3 separate regions of the Homo sapiens genome follow, and all the other regions are linked to region 3. Evidence: promoter capture Hi-C in 16 types of primary human blood cells and fetal thymus (Javierre and others, 2016). All regions are on one chromosome and are shown on one strand. Each heading gives the region's core, a stretch centred on a gene start or on the middle of the fragment in contact. The rest is flanking DNA. Distances are from core to core; before and after follow the strand shown. Region 1 has its middle 8.5 kb from the start of FLACC1. Region 2 overlaps TRAK2 (trafficking kinesin protein 2). Region 3 holds the start of CATSPERT (catsper channel auxiliary subunit tau).

Region 1 (4,138 bases), core at 1,554-4,053, 250 kb after region 3:
ATAATTTCCTGTGATGCCTAGTATCTTGAGACATTTTATCAGGAAGGGATGTTGGATTTTATCAAAAGCCTTTTCTGCATCTACTGAGATGATCATATGATTTTTTTTTTTTTTTTTTTTTTTTTGAGACAGAGTCTCACACTATCACCCAGGCTGGAGTGCAGTGGTGCAATCTCGGTTCACTGCAACCTCCACCTCTAGAGTTCAAACGATTTTCCTGCCTCAGCCTCCTGAGTAGCTGTGGTTACAGGTGTGTGCCACCATGCCCAGCTAATTTTTGTAATTTTAGTAGAGACAGGTTTTCACATGTTGCCCAAGCTGGTTTCAAACTCCTGACCTCAGGTGATCCACCTGCCTCAGCTTCCCAAAGTGCTGGGATTACAGGCATGAGCCACCCTACCCGGCCTGATTTTTGTTTTTAATTCAATTCTTTTTATATGGTGAATCACATTTGTTGATTTGCATATGTTTAACCAACCTTGCATTCCAAGAATGAAGCCTACTTGATTATGGTGAATTAGTTTTTTGATGTGCTGTTGGATTCAGTTTATTAGTATTTTGTTCAGGATTTTTGTGTCTATGTTCATAGGGATTACTGGCCTTTAGTTTTCTTTTTTCATTGTGTCTTTGCCCAGTTTTGGGATTAGAATGATACCAAAACTGGCTTCATACAATGAGTTAGGGAGAAGTCCTTCCTTAGTTTTTTTTAATAGTTTCAGTAGAGTTGGTATCAACTCTTCTTTGTATATCTGGTAGAATTTGGCTGTGAATTCTTCTGGTCTGGGCCTTTTTTTGGTGGTTAAATTTTTTATTACTGATTCAATTTTGGAACTTAATGTTAGTCTATTCAGGCTTTCGATTTCTTCTTGATTTAATCTTGGGAAGTTGTGTGTTTCCGGGAATTTATCCATTTCCTCTAGGTTTCTAGTTTTTGTGCATAGAGGTGTTCATAATAATCTCTGAGGATCTTTTGTATTTCTCTCAGTTATAATGTCACCTCTGTCCTTTCTGACTAGGCTTACTTGGATCTTCTTTTCTTTGTTAATTTAGCTAGCAGTCTATCAGTCTTGTTTATTTTTTTCAAAGAACCAACTTTTGGTTTCATTGATTCTTTGTATGGATTTTGGGGTCTCAATTTCATTCAGTGCTGCTCTGACTTATTTCTTTTCTTTGCTGGCTTTGGGATTAGTTTGTTCTTTTCCTGTTTCCTCTATGTGTGATGTTAGATCATTAATTTAAGATCTTTCTAACTTTTTGAGGTAGGTGTTTACTGCTATAAACTTTCCTCTTAAATATTGCTTTTGCTGTATCCCAGAGATTTTGATATATTGTTTCTGTTTTCATTAATTTCAAAGAATTTTTTTATTTCTACCTTAATTCCATTGTTTACCCAAAAGTGATTCAGGAGCAAGTTGTTTATTTTCCATGTACTTATGTGGTTTTGAACAGTCTTCTTGATACTGATTTCTATTTTTATTCCACTGTGGTCTGAGAGTATGGTTGTTATGATTTTGATTTTTTTTTTAAATTTCTTAAAACTTACTTTATGACCAAGCATGTGGTCAATCTTGGAGTCTGTTCTGTGTGCAGATGAGAGGAATGTATATTCTGTGGTTGATGGGTGGAATATTCAGTAGATGTCTATTAGGCCCAATTGGTCAAGTGTTGAAGTTAAGTCTAGAATTTCTTTGTTGTTTTCTGCCTCAGTGATCTCTCTAATGCTGTCAATGTGGTGTTGAAGTCCCCCACTACTATTGTGTGGCTAAGTCTTTTTGTAGGTCTAGAAGTACCTGTTTTATGAATCTGGTTGCTCTATTGTTGGCTGTATATATATTTAGGGTAGTTAAGTCTTCTTGTTGAATTAACTCTTTATCGTTTGTCCTTTTCTTTACTGTTGTTGGTTAAAAGTGTGTTTTATCTGATATATGAATAGCAACCCCTACCCATTTTTTGTTTTCTGTTTGCATGGTAAATCTTTTTCCAACCCTTTACTTTGAGCCTATGGATGTTATTAATGTGTGACAATGGTCAGTCGAAGGTAGCAAATGGATGGCTTTTGTTTTTTTATCCAACTTGCCACCCTGTGCCTTTTAAGTGAGGTGTTTAAACCATTTACATTCAAGGTTAATATTGATATGCAAGGTTTTGATTCTATCATGAGATTGTTAGCTGGTTGTTTTGCAATTTCTGTGGTGTGGTTGCTTTATAGGATCTGTGGGCTATGTTCTTAAAAGTGTGTTTCTGTGATAGCACATATCATTCTATCGTCTCCGTGTTTTGAACTCCTTTAAGAATCTTTTGTACAGCTGATCTGGTGGTAACATATTCCCTTAGCTCTTGCTTATCTAGAAAATATTTTCTTTCTCCTTTGCTTATGAAGCTTAATTTGGAGGGATATGACATTCTTGGCTGGAATTTCTTGTCTTTAAAAATGCCGAAAAAAGACTTCCAATCTCCCCTGGCACGTAAGGTTTCTGCTGAGAAGTCCATTGTTAGCCTGATGCATTATCTTTGTACACAATCCGACCTTTTTCTCTAGCTGCCTTTAAAATGTTTTCTCCTGGGCGCGGTGGCTCACACCTGTAATCCCAGCACTTTGGGAGGCCAAGGTCAGCAGATCACTTGAGGTCAGGAGTTCAAGACCAACCTGACCAACATGGCAAAACCCGGTCTCTACTAAAAATATAAAAATTAGCTGGCCGTGGTGGTATGCACCTGTAGTCGCAGCTACTCAGGAAGCTGAGGCTAAAGAATCGTTTGAGCCCAGGAGGAGGAGGCTGCAGTGAGCCAAGATAATGCCACTGCACTCCAGCCTGAGTGACAGAGTGAGACTCCATCTTGAAAAATATATATATATATATTTTCTTTAGCATTGACCTTGGACAGTCTGGTGGCTATATACCTTGGTGATGCTCATGTTGTATGGTATCTTGCAGGTGTTCTCTGGATTTCTTGTATCTGGATGTCTACCTCTAGCAAGATTAAGGAAACTTTTTTGAATTATTCCCTCAAATATGTTTTCCAGGTTGTTCACTTTTTTCCTTCTCAGGAATGCCAGTAATTCACAGGTTTGGTTGTTTTACATAATCCCATATTTCTCAAAGCCTTTGTTCACCTTTAAAAATTATTTTTTCCTTATTTTTGTGTAACTGAGTTAGCTCAAAAGATCAGTCTTCAAGCTCTGAAATTCTTTCTTCTGCTAGGTCCAGACTATTGATAAAGCTTTCAATTGTATTTTGAAATTCCCTGAGTGAGTTTTTCAACTTCAGAAGCTCTGATTGATTTCTTTATAAGATGTTTATCTCTTGCTTCATTTCCTGGATTGCTTTAGAAGTTTTGTGTTGTTGATTTTTAACCTTGACTTGGATCTCATTGATCTTCCTTGTAATCCATGCTTTGAATTATTTATCCGTTCTTTCTGAGTTTCTATTTTGGCTATAGACCATTGCTGGAGAGCAAGTTTGATCCTTTGGTGGTGTCACTATATTGAGATTTTTCATGGTGCCAGAATTCTCGCACTGATTCCTTCTCATCTGGAGATGCTGGCATTTTAATTTTATAGTATTTTCATATAGGTTAGGATTATTTATTTTTCCTTCTGTCCCTATAATATTATTGGGGTTTTTTTTCTTTCCCTTTCCCTTTTCCCCCCTCTCTAGGGAGTGTGACTATAAAGAATGCTGGGTAGGGTCTTTTGGCTTTGCTTCTATAACCCTATTCACTTCTGTCAGCAGGTTTTATACTGGGCTGTGCAGTTCAACCTACAAACCAGTAGATGGTGCTAATAGGTAAGAGCCTGCTATGGCCAATGTGACTGAGTATATACTTGATCCTTGTTTATGGGGAAAAGCTCTGTTACCTCAGGCAATGAGCTGATTCATGGGGTGCATAGTGGTCTGAGCTCCCTGCTCAGACACAGGGAGGGAGGGGCCAAAATGAGCAGAGCTGGACTAGGCAGGTCCAACTACAGGTCCCCTGATGGCAGGTACAAGTACCAGCACTGAGGGAGAATGCAGTGGGTAGCCACTACCAAGCACCCAGAGATGCTTGGGAAATTTCCTCGACCCCAAGTTCCCTGCAAAGGGATGGGGGCGGCTTAAACTAATCCAGTAGAGTGACTGCTCCAGATGCCTGGAGC
Region 2 (4,084 bases), core at 567-3,066, 220 kb after region 3:
AGAACTTCGTGAGTATTAACATATTCTCTTTTGTACCTTTTTGGACAATTCTTTGGTAGGGTATCTCCACCTCGGAAGTTAGATCACTGGTTTCAGTAGAAGCATCTCAAGAAACAATTTTAAATGGTTACTGAAAATCTTAGAATATCACATTGAGCCTACAACCCTAAATAAGATACCATATGTATTTTTAAGAAATATATTTGTTTCAAATTGCAATTATCATTACAGACCTATGTTTTGTAAGTAAGTTATAGCATGTTAGAGTGAAAGGAACCAAAGCTCTCATATTGTTGATGAGGAAATAGTCCTGTAGAGGAAGATGATATGCCAAAGTCAGAAAACTGGTAAGTGGCAGAGCCAGGGCTTAAATGATGGCATAAAACCTAACAATCAATGAGTATAAAGTGCCAGTTATGTTTCTTTAAAGGAATGTGTTTTAGTTTGAGGTAATGTTAACCAATTTTTTAAAACAAGTCAGTTGGAAAAAGATTGGCTTCACTGGAGAAAGATAAATTTAATTTCTCCATAAATACAACAGTTGTCCCTTACCTGCAGTTTCACTTCTCATTGTTTCTGTTAACCGTGGCCAACTGCAGTCTGAAAATATTAAATCAAACATTCCAGAAATAAACAATTCATGAGTTTCAAATCGCGAACCATTCTGAGTAGCGTGATGAAATGTTGTGCCATCCTACTCCATACTTCCCAGGATATGAATCATCCGTTTGTCCAGTATCTCCACGCAGTATATACTACCTGCCTTCAGTCACTTAGTAACCATCTCTTAGTAGCCGTCAGTTACCAGGTCAACTATCGCAATATTGCAGTACTTGTGTTCAGGTAACCCTTATTATACTTAGTAATGGCCCCAAAGTGTGCTGATATATTGTTATAATTATTTTATTATTAGTTATTAATCTCTTACTGTGCCTAATTTATAAATTAAGCTTTATCATCGGTATTTATTTGTAGGAAAACACATAATATATACAGTATAGAGTTCAGTACTATCTGTGGTTTCAGGTACCCACTGCAGGTCGTGGAATGTATTCCCGACAGATAAGAGGGGACTACTGTATATAGCCTTTTACATTGAAAACAATGATATGAAAATATCACATCAATTCATTTGGGCTATGGGCTTCAAAATGTGATATCTTAGAATAGCAGAATACTAGAGAACCGGAAGGAATGTAAATTGAATTTTCTCCTCCACCATGAAAACATTACCCACCTTTTACACTTTAAAATACAGGAAATGACTTGCCCAAGAGCTCTCAGATCCAGATCTCCTGCCTGTGTATCGCCATCCTTTGAAATATTAGAGGCTATCTGTCAATTTTAAAATAGCTTTACATGACACTGAGAAGTAGCTTTTCTGCTTGTATTTACATGTCAAATTTTTCATATGAGATAGAGAGTGAATAAATTCCTAGTGGAATTCTAAAGGCTCTATTTTATGTGCATGTAAGAAGGCCAGGCTATAACAATTGCTCTAGAGGCTTTACTCAGTTTGCCACATATCCCTGAAAGGGGTATGCCAGAAAGTCTGTCTCCTACAGAAGCATTTCCGTAGCTTTATCACATTCTGTTATAGATTGTGACTGTTCCATTCTGGAAATGTTCCTTTGTTAGATTTGTTAAGATTAATTTTCATTGCTTGTGGGATTTTATGTCCCTAAAGAGTTCTCAAAGAAATGAATGAGATTATCTCTTTGCACTTGCCCTCCTTTCAGCCTTCTTTCCTTCATAAAGAAAAAGATTGAGCAAATATCGTTTTCATAAAGAAAACGATTGAAGCAAAACCTTTAGCCTGCTTGCCTTTATAAGTCGTCTCTCTTTTTAGCTTCATTGTCTCCTATTCTGTTCCCAGCATTTGCCTATTTCAGAAGAACTTTTATTTTTCTCTATTGGTTTCTCTGGATTTTTTTTTATGTTTAAGAAAAATCTATTCACGACAGTCCAGTGCTTGTTATAAAACAAGATTTAGCTCACAAGTCATAGTTTGCCAACTCCTTCTCTACATTTGTATTAATTTAAAAAAATTTTTTTTGCTTCCAAGGTGAAACAAATGCTCAGATGTCCAGAATGACTGAAGAATTGTCAGGGAAGAGTGATGAGCTGATTCGATACCAAGAAGAGCTTTCCTCTCTTTTGTCACAGATTGTAGACCTTCAGCACAAACTTAAAGAAGTAGGTTTATTCATTCATTCAACAGATATTTGTTAAGCACTCACATAGTATCTTGCACCATGCTAAGTGCTAGATACAATAAACAAAATAAACATTGTCCCTGCCCTTTTAAAATGCCCTAATCTGATTGCTGTTTTAATCATCTTTATGTCATATAAGATATCATGAATAAATACTTTCAAGTCATTATTTCTCTTTGTAAAATGGGGTTAGTGCTTCCTCAGAAAGTGGTGTAAATTATTGACTCATGCCCATTGTCCTCTGAACACCTTGATAGATTTTGTATTCGAATGCCTATCTTATTTAGCTTTTGAAAGGTTAGCTTTTTGTAGGCTTTAAGATGATACCCCAGAGAGAAATTCTTCACATGTCTTTATAAGAAAGAGAATAGCTATATTTTACTTGGAAAGGCTTCACATGTCTTTTTTAATATGTTGTTAGCATGTGATTGAGAAGGAAGAACTAAAACTTCACCTGCAAGCTTCCAAAGATGCCCAACGGCAACTGACAATGGAGGTAATGAAATCTTTATCTTGTGTAATTCAGGAGGGGAAAGAGTGACTAGTTTCTTTCATCTTCATGAATAAGAATTATTAAAGGGGAATTACCAGATTTAAAAAACAACAACAAAAGGTTAAGATGATATTATGAGATCTAAGAAGTAAAGCATTTTGGCTGGTTGTGGTGGCTCACGCCTGTAATCCCAGCACTTTGGGAGGCCGAGGTGGGTGGATCACCTGAGGTCAGGAGTTCAAGACCAGCCTGGCCAACATGGTGAAACCCCATCACTAATAAAAATACAAAAGTTAGCTGGGCATGGTGGTGGGCATCTGTAATCCCAGCTACCCAGGAGGCGAAGCAGGAGAATCACTGGAACCCAGGAGGTAGAGATTGCAGTGGGCCCAGATGTGCCACTGCATTCCAGCCTGGGCAACAAAGCAAGACTTCGTCTCAAAAAAAAAAAAAGAAAGAAAAAGAATAAAGCATTTTAAAAGTCCTGTCCCTAAAACTAGTAACGTGGTAACATCCTTCTTGATTAATAGGGAAAACCTCAACTTTATAAGATTCTTTAGGAGTATATCACTCTTTTACCAGCTGACCTAAACTAGCTCAACAGTTTTTAAAATAAGATAAGTTCTAGTAGTAAATCTTTGTGCAGGTGTGTCAGGAGAAGAAGCAAAAAATCTCTTACTTTCTATCTACATAAAATTTTATTTATTAAATATAACTTAGTGATTCTTTAGCATGCATTAGTATCACCTGGAGCCAAGCACAGTAGCTCATGCCTGTCATCCCAGCACTTTGGGAGGCCAAGGTGGGAGGATGGCTTGAGCCCAGGAATTTGAGACCAGCCTGTACAACATAAGGAAACCTTCGTCTCTACAAAACAATCAAAAACTTAGCTAGGTGTAGTGGTGCACGCCTGTGGTCCCCGCTATTTGAGAGGCTGAGGTAGAAGGATCACTTAAGCCCAGAAGATTGAGACTGTAGTGAGCCATAATCACACCACTGCACTCAACCCTGGGCAACAGAGTGATATCTTGTAGGAGGGAGGGGGAAAGAATCACCTCGGAGAGCAAGTTTTAAATGGCGATTTCCAGGCACCATCCCAAGAGCTTCTACTTCAAGTGGTCTGGAGTGAGAGCCTAGAATCTGCATTTTTAATAAGCATCTTCAACCCTGGTGATTCTGATGAACTGGGGCATATACTGCACTTGAAGAAATTTTACAGTTAAAATATACTCTGAAAATTATGTACTCTTTTATCAGATGTGTATATCTAGTTGTAAAGAAGGTTCTGAAACAAGGCACGAAGATCTACTTGTTTAGGAGGATTGAGCACACTGACATTGTATATAACACTTTGTAGGCTCTTGATCTTGTCACT
Region 3 (4,119 bases), core at 1,386-3,885:
ACATGCAAGCTGATCCAGTCCAATTGGTAGGGCATCATGGTTTCTCATTACTCACTGACTTAAAATACTTTTATTGCCATCCTGGTGAAGCACTGCACTGGGTAGATAACACAGGGGCACCTTGCTGATCAGAGCCCTTGGCCAGGTACAAAGAGCTCAGTTTCTAAAACTCTGTCATTTCAATAATGTTATAAATTGAATCATACAGTATGTAATTTTATGGGATTCGCTTTTTTTCTGTTGATCTCTTTTTTTCTGAGTCATCTCAGCTGTTGTGTGTATCAATAGTTCATTTCCTTTTACTGTTTTGTTTGGTTTAACTCATTGACCTATTGAAGGATATCTGGGCTCATTCCAGTCTGTGAATAATGCTGCTGTGGACATTCATGTGCAAGTTTTTGTGTGAACATTAAGTTTTCATTTCTTTAAGATAAATGCCCAGGAGTGAAACTGATGGGTTGTATGTAGTTACAAACTGCCAAGCTGTTTTCCAGAGTTGGCGGTACCATTCTAATTTCCCATGACAATTTTTTGAAGAGTCCAAGCTAGTTGCTTTAGAGTGCCTCACCTACATTTTTTAATTGTCTGACTTTTTCCTAATGACATCACTTAATTTGTTCCTCAATCTCCTGAATTTCCTATAGACTGGAGGTTAGGTCTGGTGGTTTGATTAGATTTTTTAAAAAAATATGACTTCATCTGTGATGCTGTGTACTTTATGTTGCATAACATGAACCCTAAGAACAGAGTGAGCTGCTGGACAGCAAGTTTCATGGGGTGCAGTAATTAACACACCACATAGTATAAATCTGAAATAATGACAAATGTGTTAAGGGCCTTGGGATATTGGGCCATGTACTCTGAGGAGCACAAGGTGAGGTGCAGGTTCCTGCCCCTAAAGAACTCTATCTTTTGAGATTAGCAACTAACAGTGTGAGCCCACTAATAGGATGTGAAAGTTGTCAAAATCAAGTTCTGGTCATTGTGTTAAAAATCCTAACAAATAGAGCTGGGGAAGGCCGTGAAAGGACGATTTTCATGCACAGATGTCTGATAATGAGGACTATCATTAAAAGACTGCACAAAACCACACCTTGCACAAAGGCCATCACAACCTGACACACACAAAAAATACTTCTATGAGGACATTTGCCCAGCAACTCCCTGTCCAATGTCCAACTGGCAACATCCTTGTTATTGATCCTTGTAGCCAAGGATAATTCTCTCAAAACAATCATTTTTGCTTTAAAAACCGTTGTCTTCCTTGACCTCCCTGTATATGCACATAGTTTACTGTGGCACTTGTATTCTTATTGCAATGCCTACTCCTGAATAAACATCATTTTCTTTCAGAGAGTCTCCCTCTCTGTTATTTAGGCTGACAAGGATATGCCAAGAAGTAGCTTGGATATAGCAGTTAACTCTGCCTTTAGGATATGTGTATGGGGATATAAGAGTTAACTAAAAGCTGACCTTTGAGTTGGTCCTTGAATAAAAGAAGAATAGATTCCAAAAATAAGAGGAATAAATAATGATCCTGAGCTAGGAGAGTACATTTTGCAGACCTTTGGTTTCCATATTAAGAAATTCAGATTTTTATGTACAATAAAGAAGTTCTGGAATTCTCTGGTTTTGTTCTGTTTGCATTTATTTATATTTTTAACTTTTAGGTTCAAGGGTACATGTGCAGGTTTGTTATATAGGTAAATTTTGTGTCATGGGGGTGTACAGATTATTTCATCACCCAGGTAATAAGCCTAGTGCCCAAAAGGTAGTTTTTGATCCTCTCCCGCCTCCCACCCTTCGCCGTCAAGTAGGCCCCAGTGTCTGTTGCTCCCCTCTTTGTGTCCATGTGTTCTCATTGTTTAGCTCGCATTTATAAGTGAGAACGTGGTATTTGGTTTTCTGTTCCTGTGTTAGTCTGCTTAGGATAATGGCCTTCAGCTCCATTCGTTACTGCAAAGGACTAATACGGGGGCAGTGAAAGGGATGGATGACAGCAGGTTGGCAGACCCATGAGTAAATCATTGCAATTGTCTCGTGTGTGTGTTGTCCCAAATTAGGTGCCATAAAGGGAAAAGGTAAGTAAGATTCAGATATTTAGGGTCAGAATTTTAAAATGTGTCTGAATGTTTAAGATTTTGTGGATATGACATTGCTGCACCAAATGAGTTTGGAACCTACTAGAGGTTTAAGAGGGAAGATGAATATTAACGTGTTATGTGTCTGTGGAACAATTGGGTAAAGATGTCAAAGTAGACTGTTGGATATTTAACGTCTGGAGCTCACGGGACAGTGTAGAGGAAGTAATGACTGACACTGTAAATCTTCTAGAAAGAAATGGTGCAGGGAGAAAAGGACTCGTGAGGGCTACAGGGCGGACAAGACAGTGAACTAAAGTGGTTGGGCCCCATGAGGGGCCTTGCTCTCCACCAGCGTGCTCTGATTTCCTTCTAAAGGAGACTGAAATGGCCTGGCAAGTGCTTGCAGCAGACCCTCCAGGCTCGCTAAGCACGCATGCTTCCAAAGCTGCCTCCAGCCACTCCCAGCATGGGCCCGGCCTGAGTGGGTCACTAGGCGGCACGCACGCGCTGGGAAAATGTGAGAAAGGCTGCGGGAGGGCCGCGCCTGCGCAGTAGCGGGCCGTCGGTTGGGCGCAGACAGGCCGCAGAAGATGGAGAGATGGAGCCACCCCAAGAGACAAATAGGCCTTTCAGCACACTTGATAACCGCAGCGGGCAGGTCCAAGTCCTGTCCGCCACCCCGCTATTGCAGAGGAATCCCTACAGCAGCCCGGATATCATGCACATTAAAGGGTCGGAGGCTTCTTCGGTCCCTTACGCCCTGAACCAGGGCACGACGGCCCTGCCTAAGAACAAGAACCAGGAGGGCACCGGGCACCGGCTGCTGAACGTGAGTGAGCGGGGGCCTGGCCGGCACCTGGAGGACCGGGGCCAGCAGGGCACCTGGAGGGTGGTGAAAGGATTAAAGGGTTCAATGTGTGCCAATTGCATCTCCCTTCAATTGGCACACATTGAACCCTTTAATCCTTTTTTTTTTCGTTTATAGCAATTCCTTTTTTTTATTTTTATTTTTTATTTTTTATTATACTTTAAGTTCTAGGGTACATGTGCACAACGTGCAGGTTTGTTACATAGGTATACATGTGCCATGTTGGTGTGCTGCACCCATTAACTCGTCATTTACATTAGGTATATCTCCTAATGCTATCCCTCCTCCCTCCCCCCAACCCACGACAGGCCGTGGTGTGTGATGTTCCCCCCCCGTGTCCAAGTATTCTCATTGTTCAATTCCCACCTATGAGTGAGAACATGCAGTGTTTGGTTTTCTGTCCTTGCGATAGTTTGCTGAGAATGATGGTTTCCAGCTTCATCCATGACCCCACAAAGGACATGAACTCATCCTTTTTATATGGCTGCATAGTATTCCATGGTGTATATGTGCCACATTTTCTTAATCCAGTCTGTCATTGATGGACATTTGGGTTGGTTCCTAGTCTTTGCCATTGTGAATAGTGCCATAATAAACATATGTGTGCACGTGACTTTATAGCAGCATGATTTATAATCCTTTGGGTATATGCCCAGTAATGGGATGGCTGGGTCAAATGGTATTTCTAGTTCTAGACCCTTGAGGAATCGCCACACTGTCTTCCACAATGGTTGAACTAGTTTACACTCCCACCAACAGTGTAAAAGCGTTCCTATTTCTCCACATCCTCTCCAGCACCTGTTGTTTCCTGACTTTTTAATGATTGCCATTCTAACTGGTGTGAGATGGTATCTCATTGTGGTTTTGATTTGCATTTCTCTGATGGCCAGTGATGATGAGCATTTTTTCATGTGTCTGTTGGCTGCATAAATGTCTTCTTTTGAGAAGTGTCTGTTCATATACTTTGCCCACTTTTTGATGGGGTTGTTTGTTTTTTTCTTGTAAATTTGTTTCAGTTCTTTGTAGATTCTGGATATTAGCCCTTTGTCAGATGGATAGATTGCAAAAATTTTCTCCCATTCTGTAGGCTGCCTGTTCACTCTGATGCTAGTTTCTTTTGCTGTGCAGAAGCTCTTTAGTTTAACTAGATCCCATTTGTCGATTTTG

Evidence for each region. Contacts are between HindIII fragments. The CHiCAGO score rates a contact against its expected background, and 5 or more counts as called.
Region 1: a fragment that was not itself captured here is called in contact with the fragment with the promoter of CATSPERT in region 3 in 1 of 17 cell types (endothelial precursors); the score reaches 5.2 in endothelial precursors.
Region 2: a contact is called between a fragment that was not itself captured here and the fragment with the promoter of CATSPERT in region 3, in 1 of 17 cell types (endothelial precursors). The highest score is 6.3, in endothelial precursors.

Annotation. Positions count from the first base shown.
Region 1 is chr2:201,363,770-201,367,907 of GRCh38, reverse strand. It overlaps a transcript of FLACC1 not described here. Among named protein-coding and RNA genes, the nearest start is that of FLACC1, 8.5 kb to the right of the region's middle. RefSeq lists an enhancer at 3,992-4,041. The HindIII fragment of the contact is 842 bases long and covers 2,383-3,224 here.
Region 2 is chr2:201,393,426-201,397,509 of GRCh38, reverse strand. TRAK2 (trafficking kinesin protein 2) reads left to right here. Exons shown (of 16, transcript NM_015049.3): 7 at 1-8; 8 at 2,066-2,196; 9 at 2,638-2,712. Among named protein-coding and RNA genes, the nearest start is that of FLACC1, 38 kb to the right of the region's middle. The HindIII fragment of the contact is 1,727 bases long and covers 953-2,679 here.
Region 3 is chr2:201,617,694-201,621,812 of GRCh38, reverse strand. CATSPERT (catsper channel auxiliary subunit tau) reads left to right here and starts at 2,635. Exons shown (of 16, transcript NM_001168221.2): 1 at 2,635-2,913. The coding sequence starts at 2,683. It overlaps TMEM237 (transmembrane protein 237), which reads left to right. Exons shown (of 13, transcript NM_001044385.3): 13 at 1-1,627. The HindIII fragment of the contact is 11,514 bases long and covers 1-4,119 here.